Regions from separate parts of the Homo sapiens genome. Here region 1 is linked to region 2. The links are contacts of gene promoters, found by promoter capture Hi-C in blood cells and fetal thymus (Javierre and others, 2016). All regions are on one chromosome and are shown on one strand. The core of a region is centred on a gene start or on the middle of the fragment in contact, and the rest is flanking DNA. Distances in the headings are between cores, read along the strand shown. Region 1 holds the start of BRD4 (bromodomain containing 4). Region 2 holds the start of ADGRE3 (adhesion G protein-coupled receptor E3).

Region 1 (5,277 bases), core at 1,575-4,074, 660 kb after region 2:
TCGACTGACTTCAGACTCTCTCAAAAAAATAAAAAATAAAAACAAAACAAAATTCAATCTCTTAAATCTGTAAATCTGAAGTCATTCAATAACCTGAATTGTGAAACAAGAAAATATTGTTACCCCCACCTCCTAAAGCAAAAGTGCAATTTAGTACAAAGATCACAACAACTGGCTCAAAAAGGCAACTTTTAGAAACAAAGTCTAAATTCCTTTAAACAATTCAATAATTTAGTGGAAATGTTACTAAGTGGCCAATGATTCTCGTTATTCTTAGCTAAAAATTTTCCCTCGCTGTCCTCCAGACTAGCGAAGCTAGGCATATAGCACCCCAGAACAGCCAAACAATCCTTAAAACTCAGCAGCTACCTTCTTATCTTTCATCCGTAGGCAAAGTTCCTTATCTTCAGCAATTCCACTGGGCTGACTGCTAGCAAGATACTCGGAGGTGGACTCGACTCCTTCCAATTAAGACCAACTAAAGCCATTCTGAGACCGGCTAACTCCAGTTTGAGCCTTTAAGATACTATGTTTCCTACCAAAGAAAGAGGTATGGTGGATAACAGAGCAGCAATACATTTTGTTTCAGATTAGGCTTTGCCTTCTCCATTTGATCAATGGAAACCCTGAGTGGTTTATCTTTCCCTGGCTGAAGTTTTTGGGGGGAAGCGCTTGGTTATCTACAACGCATCAGTGATAAGATAAAAAGATAAAAAACATAATCCCCACCCAAATTAAACCGAAATAAATGCTTTATGAAATTATTGGCGGCCGGGAACGGTGGCTCATGCCTGTAATCCCAACACTTTGGGAAGCCGAGGAGGATGGAACACCTGAGGTCAGGAGTTCGAGACCAGCCTGGCCAACATGGTGAAACCCGCGTCTCTCCTAAAAATGCAAAAATTAGCTAGATGTGGTGGCGGGCGCCTGTAGTCCCAGCTACTCGAGAGGCTGAGACAGGAGAATCGCTTGAACCCAGGAGGCAGAGGTTGCAGTGAGCCGAGATCGCGCCACTGCACTACAGCCTGGGCGACAGAGCGAGACTCCATCTAAAAGTATATGTATATATTGGCAAGATCATAAAACAGATTGTGCCATCAAAAACTTTCTTGAAATTAAAAACACATTCATAAATCCTTTTGAGTATCGCTTTCTTTACAACTTCCAAAGACGGTAGGGAACTTGACAGCTCCATTCACAAAAAACTCCCGACCATTGTTACAGCCCCAAAGAGCCACTGGCTTACGAGGTAAACTGCGACTTGGTTTTTGGAACCACGGACTGGTAGAGCCCTGTCGAAGGTAAGCAAAGACATTCCAATTCTCGTGAGGCATACATTCCAAGGGGTCACTAGCATCCAACACACACGCAGAGAAATGAACCCAAGACCAGACACCCCACCAGGCTGCACGAAACGTAAACAAGTAAACAAGCAAATAAAAATCTTAAAAAAACAAAGCGTAGTCTTGAGTAAAAGGGAGGTCAGCCACCCAGGAGAAGCACATGACTCATGCACCGGCCTGAACTAAAGTATTTACACCGTCCACTACAACAGAGTGGGGTTTCCCATCTTCAAGCAAACCCAAGCCTTGGGGGCATCTCAGCCGAGTGAAGCCATGCTATTTCCGTTTGGGAGGAGGGGGATCATTTTATTTCGCTGAATCACAACTCCCCCACATCCCCACCCCAAATCACCACAATCACCACCACCACACAACACTGCAAATAAAATAGGCCGTTGCAAGGACGCCGGCGAGCACGGACCGAGCAAAACAAAGCGCCCAGCAAGGGGCTGCCAGGCTGAGAGTGGGTGCGTCAAGCGGGCCAAGCTCGCCTCCAGGGCACCGCTCCCGCCCTGAGGCCTGGCCTCAGACCGGCGTGCAGCCGCAGCCACCTCCCTCCGCAGGGGACCTGCCCCTTTCTCCGCAGCACTCCGGGGACCGCCGGGAAGGTGAAGAGATGGGGGTGGGGGCGCGCTGCCCCGGCCCAGGCAAAACGACCTGGGTGCCAGAAGGAGAGCGCGCCGGCCCCGGCCCACGTGAGCGCCGCGGCCGAGCCCGCCTAGAGGACCGCGGACCGGGACAGCTGCGCTCGCGGCCCCCGCGCCAGGCCGGGACTTACCCGGGCCGGGCGCGCCGCGGACCCCGCGGCGGCCGCTTCCTCCTCCTCCTCCTCCTCCTCACTTAACAAAATGGCGGCGGCAGGAAGTGCCGGGCGCCTCGGCCCGCCCCCCGCCCGCCCCCGACCGCCGGCCCCGCCGCGGCGCCCGCGCCCCCCACCCGCGCCCCGCCGGCCAGCCCAAGCCCGGGTCCGACGGCACCAAAGGCAGGACAGCCGCGAGCGACCCCGCCGCCCCGACACCAACGGCGCAGGCCGCCCCGGCCCGGAACGAACGGCGCGGGAGGCCCGCAGGCCCGAGCCCGCGTAGCCCCGGCCTCCCCGCCCCCGCGCCGCGCGGATGGCGTAGGTGGCGGCGCCCCGGCCCCATTACGCAATGCAGGTTACGCGGACCGCGCCGCGAGCCTCCGCCAGCCGCCCAGTGTCGTCCGCCGCCCCAAAGGGCACCAGTCCTCACCTGAGACGCTAGGCCGCACGCCGCCCCCGCCGGCCGTCCGCCCGCTGCCGCCGCCCCCTCCCCGAGCTGCCTGCGCGGCGCCGGGGCCCGCCCGCCGCTCTGCCGAGCTCACAGGCCGCGCTCGCCCGCGGGCACCGCCGGCAGCCGCCGCAGCCGCTGCCGCCGCCACTGCTTCGGCTCCTCGGCTGCGGGAGACCAGAACAAACAGCCCAGCCGCCGCCGCCGCCGCCGCCGCCGCCGCCAGCGCACTGACGTCACCGCGCACGCTGCGCGCGCGGCCCCGCGCCGCCGCCGCCCGGTGTGCGCGCCCCGCCCCCGCGCCCAGCGCGAACGAGCTCTGGAGAGACAGTGGCTGCGAGGTGAGTGGGGGATACCGCGGACTGAGGGAGGAGACCCCGCAGAGCGAAGGAGCGGGCTGGGGGAAACGGGCGGACTGCAGGCTGGGCCTGCGGGAAAAGATCTGAAGGCTGAGAGAGACATCCAAAATACTAAGAAAGGTCTGAAGACAGACCCTCACAGGGAGGGAGGATGGTGAGGAGGGACCCCACAGACTGATGGAGGAGGCGGAGGAGAGAGCCCTAAGGGGGGACCCCAGGTAGGGAGGCTGAGGCGAGAGAGCTGCGATGGGGGCGCCGGGGCTGGGGTGAAGTGGAGGAAAGGAGGTGAGAGGAGGCTGCGAGCAAGGCCGAGGCGGATCCTCCTTGGCTGCCCCTGGGCAGGGAGGTAGCACCTTTCTCCTCTTATGCCCCCCTGTTGATCTTCTTCCAACCCACCTTTTTAAAAAAAGGGACATGGTCTTGCTCTGTCCCCCAGGCTGGAGTGCAGTAGTGCAGTCATAGCTCACTGCAGCCTCAACCTGCTGGCCTCAAGCGATCCTCCTGCTTCAGCCTCCCAAGTAGCTGGGACTACAGGTGTGCACCACCACACCCAGCTAACTATTTTTTGTAGAGATGGGATCTCACGATGTTGGCCAGGCTGGTCTCTGTCTCCTGGACTCAAGCGATCCTCCTGCCTCGACCTCCCAAAGTGCTAGTATTACAGGCGTGAGCCACCGCGCCCAGCTCCTTCCCATCCTTAAGACTCAACCCCAAGTCAGACCAGGCTCGGTGGCTCACACCTGTAATCTCAGCACTTTGGGAGGCAGAGGCAGGAGGTTGGCTTGAGGCCAGGGGTTGGAGACCATCCTAGCCAACAGAGTGAAACCTCGCCTCTACTAAAAATACAAAAATTAGCCCCGTGTGGGCCGGGCGCAGTGGCTCACGCCTGTAATCCCAGCACTTTGGGAGGCGGGCAGATCACGAGGTAAGGAGATCGAGACCATCCTGGCTAAGACGGTGAAACCCCGTCTCTACTAAAAATACAAAAAATTAGCCGGGTGTGGTGGTGGGCGCCTGTAGTCCCAGCTACTCGAGAGACTGAGGCAGGAGAATGGCGTGAACCCGGGAGGCGGAGCTTGCTGTGAGCGGAGATCGCGCCCCTGCACTCCAGCCTGTGCGACAGAGCGAGACTCCGTCTCAAAAAAAAAAAAAAAAAATTAGCCGGGTGTGGTGGCGCATGCCTGTAATCCCATGCCTGTAATGCCAGCTACTCAGGAGGCTAAGGCAGAAGAATCACTTGAACCCGGGAGGCGTAGGTTGCAGTGAGCCGAGATTGTGCCACTGCACTCTAGCCTGGGCGACAGAGCAAGGCTCTGTCTCCAAAAAAGAAAAAGACTCAACCCTAAGTCAGCTCCAGGACGTATGTGCCTACTCTACATGTGTGAGTCCGAGGGGAAAAAACATCATATGACCTCTTCTAGGGCTTCCAAAGCACCCCACCTGGCCACGGAAGAGCTTAGTAAACATGGGGTAGTTTTGAGATTGCTAAAAGGAGGAAGTTAGGCATATGTCTCTTGTAGCTTAAAATAATACTGTGAAATTTTTCAAACCTGGAAACAACCACTTCTCTTTCCTTTTATATATATATATATTTTTTTTTTTAAGACAAGATCTTGCTCTGTCACCCAGGCTGGAGTGCAGTGGCTGGATCATAGCTCACTGTAACCTCAAACTCTCAGTCTCAAGTGATCCTCCCACGTCAGCCTCTTTAGTAGCTGGGACCACAGGTGTGCGCCACCGTGCCCAGCTAATTTTTGTATTTTTGTGGAGAGGAGGTCTCACCATGTTGCCCAGACTGGTCTTGAATTCCTGGGCTCAAGCGATCCACCTCCCTCAGCCTCCCAAAGTGCTGGAACTACAGGCGTGAGCCACCGCACCCAGGCCATTCTCTTAGCATTTTGTATTCCCATCTTTTAAAAATGGAAAGCAGGCTGGGCGCGGTGGCTCACACCTGTAATCCCAGCACTTTGGGAGGTCGAGGCAGGTGGATCACCTGAGGTCAGGAGTTCTAGACCAGCCTGGCCAACATGGTGAAACTTCGACTCTACTAAAAATATAAAAATTAGCCAGGTATGGTAGCGGGTGCCTGTAATCCTAGCTACTTTGGAGGCTGAGGCAGGAGAATCACTTGAACCCAAGAGGCAGAGGTGGCAGTGAGCTGAGATCGTGCCACTCCACTCCAGCCTGGGCGACAGTGAGACTCCATCTCAAAAAAAAAAAAAAAAAAAAAAGGAAAGCAAACTCAGTTCTAAAAAGTCTACATGGGGCCAGGCACAGTGGCTCACACCTGTAATCCTAGCACTTTGGGAGGCCAATGCGGGTAGA
Region 2 (5,946 bases), core at 2,709-5,208:
AGGGCACTACCTGCATGGAAGTGCTGTTCAGATTGTAGACACTGTAGGTTGGCATGTTTATTGTGACAGTGACTTGTCCTTTTTTCCCCCGGCAGATGCCACTCACCAGATCTGACTGGAGCCTCAAAGTCCCGTAGAGAGTGGTATGTGACTTGGTCATTTAGGGCAGTGCAGACCAATTGTAGGATTTTGGAGAAGAGGCCCTGGGGGCTAACTGTGTGACTCTTCAGGAGAGGTAATGGCAGCAATCTAAATCCTTCTGGATCTCTCTCTTGAGTTTCCAATTGCTGCTATCACAAATTACCATGACTGTAGTGGCTTAAAACAACACTGATTTATTATTCTCTTACAGGTCTGGAAGTCAGAAGTCTTAAATCAGCCTCTATAGGCTAAAATCAAGAATGTTAGTAGGGCTGGTTTCTTTTGGAAGCTCTAGGGGAGAATCTGTCTCCTTGCCTTTTCCAGCTTCTAGAAGCTGCCTGCATTTCTTGGCTCACGGACCCTTCCTCCTTCTTTAAATCCAGCAGCACAGCATCTTCTCGTCTTCCTGATCTTCCACCTCCCTCTTAAGAGGACCTTTGTGATTATTATATTAGGCCCCCTGGAAAATTCAGGGTACTACCCCCATATTAAGATTCTTATCTTAATCAACATCTGCAAAGTTTCTTTTACCATGTAAGGTAACATATTAACAGGTTCCAGGGATTAGGATGTGGATGTCTCTGGGGGGACTGTTATTTTTCTTCCTGTAATTCTCACCCTTCCCCCAAGAAGATGCCAGGTCTGGTTTGTGATCAGTTACTTATGCAATTGCATTCACAGAACATTTTGAATATTCTCAGCTGGGCTTAATGTCAGGCTGATGTTTCCTTTAAAGTCCCCTTCCTTCTACATTTTTTATTTTTATTTTTATTTTTTTGAGGCAGGTTCTTTTTCTGTTGCCCCGGTTGGAGTGCAGTGGTGCAATCATACCTCACTGTAGCCTTGAACTCCTGGGCTACATGCATGAGATACCACTTGTGGCCAATTAAAAAAAATTTTTTTGGTAGAGATTGGGTCTTGCTGTGTTGACCGAGCTGGTCTTGAACTGTTGGCCTCAAGTGATCCTCCTTCTGTGGCCTCCCAAAGTGTTGGCATTATATGCGTGAGGCACTTTCTTCTTTTGTATATACATGAATGTGTAGCAGCCACACAAACCTTACGCCTGCCCAAATGATGACTAGCTCACAGGGCCAACTGATAAACCATATGGCTGAATAGTGTTACCCTGTTCCTAAAACTCAGGCAGTCTGGGGGACCATCATGTTTCCTTAAGACTAGTCTTTAGTCTAACCAGCAAGCCTGTACTCACTAATTTGGGCAAAGGTCTTAAGTTAGGGTTTCTGAAGAGTCATCGGTGTGTCAGAATCCCAGAGTTCTAAGAAACTTTAGAAATCATCCACTGACTTATTTTGTAGATGAGGAAACAGGTCCCCTGGGGTTAAGTGGCTGGCACACTAGTTGGGCAAATTTGGGTAAGTTGTTTAACTTCTCTAAGCTTCCTTATGTGAAATAGGGTGGCAGTATGACCTACTTTGTGGGGTTTTGGAGATGACCTAAATGAGGGACTGTGTAGAGCACAATGTCAGGCAGGAAGTCCTCCACTGATACTGGCTGCCTCTGTCACCATCTGACTTCCTCCTTTCCCATTTGGATGCTTTTTCTTTCTCTCTTTTTGCCTAATTGCTCTAGCTTGCTGCCTATATTATCATTTGAGCTCTGTTGCTCAGGCTGGAGTGCAGTGATGCAATCACAGCTCATTGTAACCTTGAACTCCTGAGCTCAAGCGATCCTCCCACCTCAGCCTCCAGGGTAGCTGGGACTGCAGGTGTGTGCCACCATGACTGGCTAATTTTTTTTTTTAATGTTTCTTGGAGACAGAGTCTTGCTATGTTGCTCAGTCTGGTCTTGAACTCCTGGCTCAAGCAATCTTCCCGCCTTGCCTTCCAAAGCTTTGGGATTATAGGTATGAGCCTCCATGCCCAACCCTGGAATCCTAATTCTTGACCCAATGCTCATATCATCACCCTTGCCTGTACCATCCAGTGATATGGGCTAAAAGTTCCTGGATAACCAAAATTCACTAATAATCCACCTCAGAAGTGTGGAGGACTCTGTCTCCAGTTGCAAAAAGGCAGGCTTCTTTCACATTTGATTCCACATATACTGAAACACCTCTTATATATAAGATGCTATGCTAGGGGTTGCAAAGGTGAGGGAGACATGGCATTAGGATTTAAGTGTAGCTTGTATTATTTTGATAGAATTTACAGCCTATCAGCTGCCTCTGCAGCAGAATAGCTGTGAGGCTTTGAGAAATTCACAGAACCTCTCTATGATGCAATTTCTTATCTGTAATGTGCAGATGCTATGTGACAATGTAAAGCAATTTAAGCCTAATGCCAGGCTAAAGTAGCTGCTTAATAAATGTAAGCTTTGATTGATATTGGGACTATCAATATTGTTAATTCATCTGGAGCTGGAAAGATGGATGGGATTTCATCCGTACAGAGATGGTGGTTGAAGCCATGGAATTAGGAGATTCCCATAGGGAGAGGGAGTAGAAAAACAGAAGATCCCAGTAAGGATCCTGTGGGAGGAGCATTATAGCAAAGATCTGGAGACAGATGGTTTGGATTCAAATCCCAGCTCTCTTATTTACTAGCTGTGTGATGTTGGACAAATAACATAACCTGTGCCCCAGTTTTCTTATCTGTAAGATGAGGATACCCCATGAGCATACTGATGATGCAACAGATTAATACATGTAAGGTGCATAGTGAGTTTTCAAAAATGTTGGTTATCATTATTTTCTTTGTATAAATTTATGGGATACAAGTGTAATTTTGTTACACGCATAGATTTCATAGTGGTGAAGTCAGGGCTTTTAGAGTATCCACCATCCAAATGATGTACATTGTAACCATTAGGTAACTTCTTATTTTCCACTGTCCTTCTACTCCCTCAGCCTTCCCAGTCTTCATCGTCTATCATTCTACTCTCTATGTCCATGTGTCCACATTATTTAGCTCCCACTGATAAACAAGAACATGAGGCATTTGTCTTTTGGTGTTTGAGTTATTTCACTTAATATAATGACCTCTAAAATTAATAATAAAATTATCATTTATTTTCTTGTCACAGGAAAATGATAAAGGAGGGAGAAGAAAGAATAGCAAGAGAAAAAGGAAAAAAGTCAGGGCAGGGCTAGTTTGCAGAAGTTATCAAGAAGGAGAAGACATCAATTAGAAAACAAAACTTGCCAAGAGGAAGATGAACAACGTATTAGAGACCGGGTGCGGTGGCTCATGCCTGTAATCCTAGCACTTTGGCAGGCTGAGGCGGGTGGATCACCTGAGGTCAGGAGTTCGAGACCAGCCAGGGCAACATGGTGAAACCCCATCTCTACTAAAAATACAAAAATTAGCCAGGTGTGGTGATGTGTGCCTGTAATCCCAGCTACTCAGGAGGCTGAGGCAGGAGAATCACTTGAACCCGGGAGGCAGAGGTTTCAGTGAGTCAAGATTGCGCCACTGCACTCCAACCTGGGTGACAGAGTGAGATTCTGTCTCAAAAAACAAAACAAAACAAACAAACAAAACAAACAAAAAACCAAGCTACTAGATTGGATAGGAACATTTTAGGGATATTCGAGAGCATACTTTGAATAGGGTAGTCAGGAAGGAAACCACACTCCAAAGGGAAAAGGTGAGAGTGTTCAGAGCAGAAGAAAGAGGAGGAGAAAATAACCAATTGTTGAACCAAGTGGTCCCTGACTGGGGGATAGGTTAAGCCTCAGTCATTGTTACAGTCACACATACCTGGAAGAAGCAATGGTCCCTGCATTTCTGTGGTACGGGTATCCCACGCCAGCCAGCCCTGGAAGCTCTCTACTGTGCCGTAAGCCAACCACCTTTCCTAGCTCAAGAAATCCCATGAGAATTGAAGTATGTATCTTAGGTCAGCTGACTCATGAAATTGCTATCAGAAAAGCAAACTGCTTCCCCTCTTTCGCCATCAGACTCATGGTTCTGCTTTTCGTTTATTTGCTGTACCTTTTCTGCCTAGCTATTGTTGATCACCTTTGGGATGATTGAGTTGGTAAACCCTAACGAGGAAATGCCCTGAAAGTTACATCACATTGTCTGAGGATTAGGAAGTGCCTTTGGGGCCAAAATAAATCTTAAATAAGCCTGTGGCTTTGAGGTGAGTAAACCAGATTTTAGGGTGTCTGTGTTGGTATCTGAAGTTTCCAGAGGAGTCATTTTAACATATCTTTCTCTTCCCCCAGTAGATGATACTTACTGGTTATGATTGCTGAGCCATAAGAAGTTAAGAGTCCCAAAGTCTCATAGAAGGTAATACATTATTTGGTTATTTGGACCAACCCTAACCAGTCACAGGACTTGGGAGAAAAAGTCTGTAAATCTACCCTTCCTCCAGCAAATATTTATTTATTTATTTATGTGGGTCTTGCTCTGTTACCCAGGCTGGAGTGCCGTGGCACAATCATAGCTCACTGCAACCTCAAACTCCTGGGCTCCAGCGATCCTCCCACCTCAGTCCTCTGAATCGTTAGGACTACAGGTGCATGCCACCACGCCTGGCTAATTTTTTTTAGTTTTTATTTTTTTTTTTGAAGAGAGACAGGGCCTCGCTTTGTAGCCCAGGCTTGTCTTGAATTTCTGGGCTCAAGCAATCCTTCTGCCTCAGTCTCCCAGTGTTGAGATTACCGGTGTGAGCCACTGCACCCGGCTCCCCTGCTTAAAACTCTTCTGAAGCTCTTCATTAGACTTAAAACACCAGACTTCCTACTGAAGCAGTGTTGTTGTCTGGGGTTCATCCTCTCATGCCAAGTAAATCAAGGATGCGGATGCACAAGAAGTGAATTTAAGGCCGAGCACTGTGGCTCACCCTTGTAATCCCAGCACTTTGGGAGGCTGAGACGGGCGGATCACCTGAGGTCAGGAGTTCAAGACCAGCCAAGCCAACATGGTGAAACCCTGTCTGTACTAAAAATACAAAAATTAGCTGGGCATGGTGGCGCATGCCTGTAATCCCAGCTACTCGGAAGGCTGAAGCGGGAGAATTGTTTGAACCCGGGAGGCAGAGGTTGCCGTGAGCGAAGATTGCGCCAGTTCCTTCCAGCCTGGGTGACAGAGTGAGACTTCATCTAAAAAAAAAAAAAAAAAAGTGAGTTTCAGAGCAGAAGTTTAACAGGCAAGAGAAGAGAAAAAAGAGAAAAGCTCTATCCTGCAGAGAGAGAGGGGCTCCCAAGTGAGTCTTCTGGTCTCGTGGTGAAATACATGGGGTTTTATAGCCGAGCTTGAGGAGGAGCTGTCTGATTTACACAGGAACCGAGAGATTGGTCGGACTGGGTGTGCTGTTTGCATAGCACGCAAAGAAGCTGGCCGCCCCATCCTCATCTTTTACTATGCAGATGGGGTCTCTACCTGGCTGGCACTATGTTGCCTGCTTTTTTACTGCACACGTGGTGATAAAGAAAAGGGAACATGGTGAAACCCCGTCTCTACTAAAAATACAAAAAATTAGCCGGGCGCGGTGGCGGGCGCCTGTAGTCCCAGCTACTCGGGAGGCTGAGGCAGGAGAATGGCGTGAACCCGGAAGGCGGGGCTTGCAGTGACCCGAGATAGCGCCACTGCAGTCTGGCCTGGGCGAAAGAGCGAGACTCTGTCTCAAAAAAAAAAAAAAAAAAAAAAAAGGGAAGAGGGAACCTCCATGTTGAACATGCCTGCCCCCAGGAAGCCTTTTCCTATTGGCACAGCCGCTGCATTTACCTTTGCAAACTTCCAGCTTGCTTATTTATGTTTGTAGCTCGATTTTGCAGACTGCTCTTTGTCGTGGTGGTGATGATGATGATGGTGATAATAACGGTTGTGGTGGTGA

The links. The method cuts DNA at HindIII sites, captures the fragments that hold promoters and counts their contacts. A CHiCAGO score of 5 or more calls a contact.
Region 1: a contact is called between the fragment with the promoter of BRD4 here and the fragment with the promoter of ADGRE3 in region 2, in 1 of 17 cell types (monocytes). The highest score is 5.1, in monocytes.

Annotation. Positions count from the first base shown.
Region 1 is chr19:15,329,715-15,334,991 of GRCh38, forward strand. It overlaps BRD4 (bromodomain containing 4), which reads right to left and starts at 2,825. Exons shown (of 20, transcript NM_001379291.1): 1 at 2,576-2,825. It overlaps LOC124904643 (a long non-coding RNA gene), which reads left to right and starts at 2,899. Exons shown (of 4, transcript XR_007067146.1): 1 at 2,899-2,934. RefSeq lists silencers at 1,825-1,874, 1,885-2,034, 2,065-2,164, 2,365-2,594, 2,825-2,924 and 2 more and an enhancer at 3,091-3,707. The HindIII fragment of the contact is 24,183 bases long and covers 1-5,277 here.
Region 2 is chr19:14,670,886-14,676,831 of GRCh38, forward strand. ADGRE3 (adhesion G protein-coupled receptor E3) reads right to left here and starts at 3,959. Exons shown (of 16, transcript NM_032571.5): 1 at 3,861-3,959. The coding sequence starts at 3,885. The HindIII fragment of the contact is 5,907 bases long and covers 2,472-5,946 here.